Linked DNA regions of Homo sapiens: region 2 is linked to region 1. The links are contacts of gene promoters, found by promoter capture Hi-C in blood cells and fetal thymus (Javierre and others, 2016). All regions are on one chromosome and are shown on one strand. The core of a region is centred on a gene start or on the middle of the fragment in contact, and the rest is flanking DNA. Distances in the headings are between cores, read along the strand shown. Region 1 holds the start of ABCD3 (ATP binding cassette subfamily D member 3). Region 2 overlaps ZNF644 (zinc finger protein 644).

Region 1 (4,514 bases), core at 740-3,239:
CATTTATACTTGATTTTTTTTACACGTTTTTCTTCTCTAACAGCCTCTGGAGAATATGATCTCCATGATCTGTTCATCCTTGTGTTATCTGTGCCAGGCATACTTAATTACGTAAATTATGTGAGGTCGTTGGGGCTCACAACACAATACTCCAAAATGAAGGTCTCAGTAGCAAAAGTTCTCTGCCCTACTCTGGCCCTCCTGTCTCTCAGTCCCGTATTTCCCTAGGCTAGCCATAGATATTAGGATCCCTATTCCTCAAGACAAGATGTAGAAACCAGAACCTCTATCCCCTAAAGCCAGCCATAAAAGCCTAAACATATTTTGCTAGTTTTCCCTCCCCCTTTTTCTGTAAAATCTGGCCATAAAGAAATTATCTGACCTGCCTTGTTTGACTGTAGGCTGTTAAGAGCTCCATTCCATTCCTGCCCTATACCCAGAAGGAAGGAATGGTGCTCAGAAGGCCAAGAAGAATCTAGACAGGCCTTGCTGGGTGTCCCCACTCAGTCTGTTAGCATTAGATTATACCATTTTTGTCCAATCACATTTCTACATAGCTGTCCATACTTTGTTGAACCTAAACACAAAAATGGACAATTTTCCAAGTATCTTTGGGTCTCCATTCTGAACGCTCCCATGTATACACATTAAATTTGTATGCCTTTTCTCCTATTAATTTTTTCTTCTATTAATCTGCCTTATGTCAGCGGTTTTCAGTTAACTTTCAGAGGGCCAAAACCTTTTGTCCCTCCAGGTAATGAAAATGTCCACATGACAAATAGTGAATTAGTAGGAGCTTCAGTTCTGCATAATTTAGAATTCACTGTTGAGCACCTCTATACGCATGCCATTATTGTACCTCGTCTTTGTGATCCTCATAACCTGTATTAGGCAACAGCTCATTTATATTGAGAAAACACCTAGGGCACAGCACCACTACTTTGTAGGCTACTTTAATATGTATGTGCATTATGCGAGGTTTTATGAGCTTATTTTCTGACACACTTGCTTTTCTCCAGTTTCCTCAGCTGAAAACAGCGATTCACTGTTACTGTATATATGCTAGGCTCAATGCTGGCGATAACAATTCCTGCAACATAGGGTCAGACAGGAGAAGAATGTTGTAATCTGCAAAGCCCTTCTGATTCTGGGAGTGAGGCCAGCATTAATACAACGCACGATTGTTACTTCTGAATGTCCCTTTGCAAAGAACAGTGTTTCTCAAACTTTTTTCTGACCAGATCTGCATACATTTTACATCGCCGCTGGCGATACATACGTGCAAAACACTGAAATCGAAATTTCTCTAAACAACTCCTTTACTACGTGATGTACTGTGAAACTTTTCTATTTTGTTCTATTCTCAATTTTATTAAAAACGGAGGGTGATGATCCCGATCTACCAAACCAATTTCACAATGCGCTAGAGATTATAACCCGCGGTTTGGAAAATACTGGCTTGGAAAAAGCTCTTTGATCTGTGTCATTCTCCTCACATCTCCCTACACCTCTGCGGAGTTCCGATTGTTTGGTTTCGTCCTGATAATCACTGTGCTGTGTTTTCCCTACACGCTCTGTGACGGGGCCGTCCGCCTCCTTCCTGGGCTCCTTTAAGAGGGTGGTAACGGTACATCACCGCGGGAGTGGAGAGGCAGGGCCCACTAGGTCGTCGCTGCAGGCCAGGCCCGCTCATCCAGTTATTGTGAAAGCCGGGGTGTGCGCGCGAAGAGTGGGAGGGTAGGGGTGAGGCAGGGGCAGCACTGACGCCTCGCAGGGCTGAGTAGCAACAGCTCCTCCGCGCCGCGTTTCCGGAGACCCTGAAGGAGTCCGCGCGTGCGCAGAGCGCGTCCCGGGAACTGTTCCGCCCACGGAGGCTGCCGAGCGCGCTCCCGCCGGGCCAAAGTACAAAGTGGGCTCCAGAGCGCGGGCGGCGCGGCGGCGCGAGCCAGGGGGCGGTCCTGCGCGGCCGGCCCCGCCCTCTGCTCTCCTCCCAGTCTCCCCCGCGCTGCGTGCAGTAAGGTAGCCGCCGCCGCCGCCGCCGCCGCGTCCCCTCGCCGGCTCGCTGGTACCGGCAGTGCCATGGCGGCCTTCAGCAAGTACTTGACGGCGCGAAACTCCTCGCTGGCTGGTGCCGCGTTCCTGCTGCTCTGCCTGCTCCACAAGCGGCGCCGCGCCCTCGGCCTGCACGGGTAAGAAGGCCCGTAGCCGTGCAGCTTTCCCGGGCTGGAGCGGGCGCTCCCCGCGCGCTCTCTCTCCCCACCCGGCCGACAGGTCTCTTTGCCCGACGGGGTCGGGCGGAGAGAGGGCCGACCGCGACTGCCGTGGGACTTCAATGTCAGGGTGTCCGCGAGTCCCCGCCACGACGGCGTCGGTCCCAGCTGGCCTGTCCGGCGACCTCGCTCCACCCCGGGAGTGCGAATTCTTCTGTGCCCGCGGGCGAACCGGCGCCCAGCCAGCACTCAGGCAGCGGCCTCCAGTTGGGGGTGGGAGGGGGATGCGGTGTGTCCCCCACCCCCTTCCCTACATCACCCCCTTCTGTGTCAACTTTCTGGGTGTGTTCTGGTTTTGCCATCTCATCTTCAGACCGTGAAGGATTTGTTTTGGGGACGTGGATGTGTGATTGAGGATGGGGATTGGATTCGCCAGGCTGGAGGCTGGTGTCTAAGTCACTTGGACGAGGTTTGGCTCGATTCCCGACTAACTGCTATTGAAAGTCGCGAGGGTGGCTTCTATGAAACTATTCCCGGTCCACTTGGCAGGATTGCCGTCTAAAGTGGTGAGCCCTTGGAGTCGGTGAACCCTTTGGTCGGTGAACATTTGGTCGGTGGCATTTCATCCGGAAAGGCTGGATCGGTTCTGTCGGACTTAGAGGGAAATGTTTTCCTTCCTGGGCTCTGTAGGTGAAAGATGAGAGTGTGGTTTAGGTGAGGATCAAGCTCCTTTTTAATGACACGCCACTGCTTCCACCGCGGGAGAATTTCAGTGCTTAGATTTAACTTTGGGAGGTTATCAGTTCAGAAAAAGTAAAAAAGAGAGAGCTGAATTACGGTTGCGACATACAGGTATGTATGTCACATACATGCAATTTTTATTTGCTGGACAAGTGAAAGAGAAAAGGCTACTTCCCAAGCGTTCTTGCCAGTCATTGAATATTTCGTATTAAATCTTGACATACTACTTTCATGAATTTTATTTCATTCATTCCTCTGAGCAGGTACTGTTGCCTCCCGTGTTTGATTTGCCTACAATATCTAATTAGTAGTAAAATTTGGGCTAAAACACAAATAGACTTCTAGTTTATAGTACCCTTTCCATTAAGTTCTTTCTAGCCGCCTTCTGTTTTTATCTTACTAGAGTCTGAAGTGATGATCTTTCTTTTCCTTCCTAAATCCATTTAACAGAGTTGAAAATGATTTGCAGCATAGTCTGGGCAATAACAGCGCTTACTCATTTTTCTTCTATTCAGTTTGCTTTTAAAAGGATTAATTTGGGAAAATAAAAAGCAAGTTTTTCTGTTGGTTTGTATGAACTCCCAGTTGCAAATAGAAGTTACCTGTTACCTGGGAACATGCCAGTAGAAAGAAGATGTTAGGTCCTTTAACTTGAATTCTGTTTTTGCAAAGAAGTGTTTCAGGGCATAGAACAGGTGTTTTAATATGGAGGAGGGGACTCGAGGACAGCCCTACAAGTTCTGGATTACTTTTATGATTATATGTATATGTGATATAGTATCACATACATGCCACATACATATAGTACACATAGAGCTTGAAGAATTTTTACAAGTAGAACACACTCGTGTAATCAGCACCCAGATCAAGAAACAGAACATTATCAGCACCCCAGAAATTCTCCTCATGCCCCCATCCAGTCACAGTCCACCTAACTACTAAACCAGTTTGTAAGACCATAGATTATTGCTAAGGGAAATTTTAAACAGAATCTATTGGGAAATAGTAGCGATAGAAGTAAAATAATGTAATAGAATTTGTCTTATTAAATAATTTTAGCTCCTCATTTGCCATTGTAAAATGCCTAAAAAAATTTTTTTTTGAGAAACTTTGTGAGCTTTTGTGGGGATTAAATTCTTTAGCAGGAGATGTACTGAACAAAAGATTATTATTAGTCTTTTGCATTGGGATGAGTGGGGAAAATCTCTATTTTACACAGTATTTTGTTGGAGGAGATTGCAGATTCTGAGCAGATAATCATGAAGTTTAAATTGTTGAGGTGAAATGATTGAACTATTTTGAAACCATTAAAAATGGTATTGAGTGTATTTTTGTAGATATTGTACTTCCAGAAGCTTACAAATATCTTTTAGTCACCACCTTTGGTATCACAGTTTGAAGATTAGAAGATTCTAACTTTATATTTGAGTGGGCTTTTGAATATCTTTGGTAACAGAACTGATTAATTTTAATATCTGGTGCTTAATTAAGGAAACTGTGGCTACTTGGCCTTCTTTTGTCTATGTTGTTAATAGTAGGTTGGTTTTAGAATATATATTCCCT
Region 2 (4,514 bases), core at 935-3,434, 3.4 Mb before region 1:
GAGTGCAGTGGCACAATCTCAGCTCACCACAACTTCTACCTCCCAGGTTCAAGTGATTCTCCTGCCTCAGCTTCCCGAATAGCTGGGATTGCAGGCACCCACCATCACGCTTGGCTAATTTTTTTTTTTTTTTTTTGTATTTTTAGTAAAGACTGGGTTTCACCATGTTGGCGAGGCTGGTCTCAAACTCCTGACCTCAGGTGCTCCACCTGCCTCAGCATCCCAAAATATCTGTGCTTTTTTAACATGCTCTTCCCCCTAGCTGTTATCTCCTTCCCTTTCCACCAACCTATACACACCACTTCTTCAAAATCTAGGTAAAAAATTATTTTTGTCAAAAAGCTTTATTAATCTTATTACAGATCATTCATTTTATTTTGTCAGCTCAGTAATTTAAATGTTTCATAGTTAAGTACTCTTCAAGCTATATCTTAGATCATGAGCTCTTTGGAGTAGAAGCCATATCTGTGCTCTATGTATATGCAACCCTACCCCTAGTGGAGCATTAGCTGAATTTTGTATGACAACTAACCCAGTTAAATAAAAGTTATGAAAATTGGGGGAAATACAACCAGACAAACAAGACTTTTCTGAATACAAAAAAACTGAAATCTCCCAAAACTAAATTCAAACATAACATTCATTTTTGTCAAAACAACATGTAAACATAGAACACAAACTTGAGTGTATTTTTTTCTACATAGTCAGTTCTGAAAACTATAATTAAGAACATTCTAATTGTTTTATGTTAGTGATTTTCTAAATCTAGCCCCCAAAAGCTGTTATGTGTAAAGTCTCAATATTTTGGAGATAATAATCATATACTTTTTTCAATGTCTAATTTAACCAATTTGCTTTAGCCTTCTATACTTCACAAAAGCTACAATAAGAAAAGTTGACAGGTGAGATTTTATTATTTCTTCAAGACAAATACTGAAATCCCTGGAGCAAGAGTATATTAAATGAACTTATTACAAATTCCAAAAGACAAAACTTCTTTATATAGAGTAAATATTTTCATTTATAAACTCGAGCATTCACAATCCAAATGTTAATGAGAAAGTCTTTTCATACCCATTTCTGCGCAATTTACATATTCATTCTTCAAAACCAGATATACTAGAATGTGAAGATATATTTTTTATTATATACGTTTAACAACATTATAATACCCATTTCAGAAAAAATTCTTTATCTGCAAAGCACCAATTTAATACTGCTATACTACAATAAGGTTTCTACTGCTCAGTATTTACGAAAAATAATGCTACAACTATTAATTCCATTTGGGGGAAAAAAACTGATTCAAGCACTAAAAGTAAAAATCATGATCAACAATTCTATTTCAGTTTTCCATTTATAAAGTCTCCTACATGGGCTTTAACCATTCACACTTGTAAGCAACTGTCCATAAGGTAACATTCTAGTTATATTCTACTTTTCTGTTGAACAGGTAGATGCCTACCTATAAAAAAAAAGTACACCTATTTATTCCTACCTCTAAAATTACAATCAGAAATACCCAAATACCTTAATAAGCAACCTAAAATGCCTAATAGCTAACTGACATAATGCCTGGAAGCTACCATCAAAGAGGCTCCAAAAACCATCTATATAAGGAGGCAATCCACAACTTCCTCCACCTACTTCCTGGCTATATGCCTAGAGAATACTGTAATGACAGCAAGCCAGGCAACTATGTTATCGGTGGAGGCAAATTCAAATCTCTGCATTCTAAACAAAATATCAAGTCATAAAACTAACCTCTAAAGGATTACTATTAATGAACACTAAGAAGCACCTCTCTGATTTTGTCACTGGGGGGAAAAAAGGGCCATAGTACCAAATATCACCTGATTTACCTCCCAATTCATAACAATGCCAAACAAGGACAGAAGAAAAGAGAGATGGATTCAAGCATCAATTCTCACTACCCTTGGGAGGGAGGACAAATATGCCATAAGAAGTTTAGAAACAAAAACTCCAGCCCGGGCAACATGGTAAAACCCTATCTCTACTACCGAAAGAAAAAAAAAAAAAATCAGCCAGGCATGATGGCATGCACCTGTAGTTCCAGGTACTCAGGAAGCTGAAGGAGGAGGATCGCTTGAGCCTGGGAGGTGAAGGCTGCAGTGAGCTGAGATTGCGCCAATGCACTCCAGCTAGGGTGACAGACTGAGACCCTGTCTCAAAAGAAAAAAAAAGGAAGGAAAAGAAAAAGAAACAAGCAAAAACTAATTTATGGTGATAGAGGTTAGAGGTTAAAATAGTGGTTACTTCTGTAGGGAGAAATTAATAGGAGGGAGCACAAGGCACCTTTAATCAGTGAAGAAAAATATTCTACATCTCTATCTGGGTATTTCATTTAAAATAGGCTCTAATCACGGAAAATGCTTGCATTCCACAATTCTCATGTCTGTGCTTTTTTTACATCCTCTTCTCCCCAGGTGTAACCCAGTACCTCCCACTACCTGGGAGTTACCTAGGTATACTTATATGTATAAATTCACTGAGTTGTACTTAAGATTTGTGCACTTCACTGTATGTTATACCTAAAAAAAATACTTAAAAACAAGTAACCAATTAATAGCTAAATCTAAAAACCTTTTCTCAATTCTCATCCTTCTTTATCAATCTCCATCATATTGTTAATCACAGAACATCAATATTCCCTAAATGAAACACTTTCCCTTTTGAAGATCGACTAGGCTTTGTTAGGATGTTTTTTCCAGCATTTTCTGTAGTGTCATATTAATTCTCTCTAAATATTAATTCAATATTTATCTTTTTTCTTTTGTTTTTTGGAGACTGAGTCTCACTCTGTCGCCCAGGTGGGGATGCAGTGGCATGATCTTGGCTTACTGCAACCTCCGCCTCTCATGTTTAAGCAATTCTCCCGCCTCAGCCTCCCAAGTAGGTGGCATTATAGGTGCACACCACCATGCCCAGCTAATTTTTGTATTTTCAGTAGAGACGGGATATTTCATCATATTGGCCAAGCTGGTCTCAAACTCCTGACCTCAGGCGATCTGCCGACCTCAGCCTCCCATAGTGCTGGGACTACAGGCATGAGCCAATGCACCCAGTTAATTCAGTATTTATCAAGTGCTCATGTATGAGACACGAATTAGGCACCCTCCAATATATATTTCCAATCTCTCTCTCACACACACACACACACACACACACACACACATACACACACACACACACATATACACACCCAAACCAAATTCCCTAAACTGGATTCAAGCCACTCTATTACCTGGTATCAAACTGTATTTGCTGTTTTAATTCCTATCACTTCTTTATGGGAATATTCTTCTCAAGCATTTTCTGTTCTCAGCTATCCTTTACGGTTCAGTTCAATTTCTATGTTATTCTTTCCCTATACCCCATAGGACTTACTATCTGTAATTGCACTGTCCAATACAGTAACTTCATGTGGCTACTGAATACCTGAACTCTGGCTAGTCTGAATTGAGATGTGCTTTAAGTATGTAATACTAACAGATTTTGAAGACTTAACATGGTTAAAAAAAGAAAAAATGTAAAATAGTTCAATCATGTTTATATGATGAAATAATAGTATTTAGATACTGGGTTAAATAAAAATCCATTAATAAAATTTCACCTATTTATTTTATTTTTTGATGTGGCTATAGAAAATCTAAAATTGCATTTGTGGCTCAACTTATATTTCTATTGGGCAGTGCTGACCTATACAATCTATTTATAAATGCCCACAAATTACCTTTTTCTTCTTCTTCTTCTTAAACTGATAAATACAAATTGTATATATTTATGGTGTACAACACATTTTGAAATACATATAAATTATGCAATGGTTAAATCTAGCTAATTAACACATGCATTACCTCACATAGTTATATTTTGTGGTGTGAACACTTAAAATGTACTCTCCTAGCAACTTTCAAGTATGCAATATTAACTATAGTTACTATGCCCCACAAATTATCTCTTAACATATAATGTCATCTTCCCGATGAGTGCCAGAATTCAACATTAAGCTTTTTTCTTTTATGAATTAAATATTATATTAGGAATTACTAATAGTAATTAAGTGCCATTTAATTTTAATATCCCTTTAAGATTTTTAACAAGGAAGTGTAAGGCATTTCAAAGTGTTCAAATATTAAAAAAAAGTTGTTTTCAGATAGCTATAAATTATACAATTTTTCATCTATATTTTACTTATATACAATTCTAAGTCAAATGTCCCACCAGCAAGGATAGATAGCATGATTAAACCTGTAGCAATCCAAATCCCATAAAGTATTAGTTCTGATTAAGCCTGATTTTTTTCATCTTAGTCACTCAGTAAAGGGCAGCATCCATTTTGGTCAACATCATTGTACCAATGTCCAGCAGCCAAGACAAAGAGCCTTTATATGGTGGTATGAATAGACAATGAGAGCAATACGACACCACTTGAAATAAGGGGGGGGAGAAAAATGTTTTTATAATGCTAAGTTTTAAAACTAGGAGATGAA

What was found. The method cuts DNA at HindIII sites, captures the fragments that hold promoters and counts their contacts. A CHiCAGO score of 5 or more calls a contact.
Region 2: a contact is called between a fragment that was not itself captured here and the fragment with the promoter of ABCD3 in region 1, in 1 of 17 cell types (non-activated CD4 T cells). The highest score is 5.1, in non-activated CD4 T cells.

The regions. Positions count from the first base shown.
Region 1 is chr1:94,416,400-94,420,913 of GRCh38, forward strand. ABCD3 (ATP binding cassette subfamily D member 3) reads left to right here and starts at 1,990. Exons shown (of 23, transcript NM_002858.4): 1 at 1,990-2,189. The coding sequence starts at 2,080. RefSeq lists enhancers at 1,179-1,970, 2,442-2,581 and a silencer at 1,732-2,111. The HindIII fragment of the contact is 10,166 bases long and covers 1-4,304 here.
Region 2 is chr1:91,010,288-91,014,801 of GRCh38, forward strand. All of the region lies in intron 1 of ZNF644 (zinc finger protein 644), which reads right to left. Among named protein-coding and RNA genes, the nearest start is that of ZNF644, 9.5 kb to the right of the region's middle. The HindIII fragment of the contact is 3,689 bases long and covers 341-4,029 here.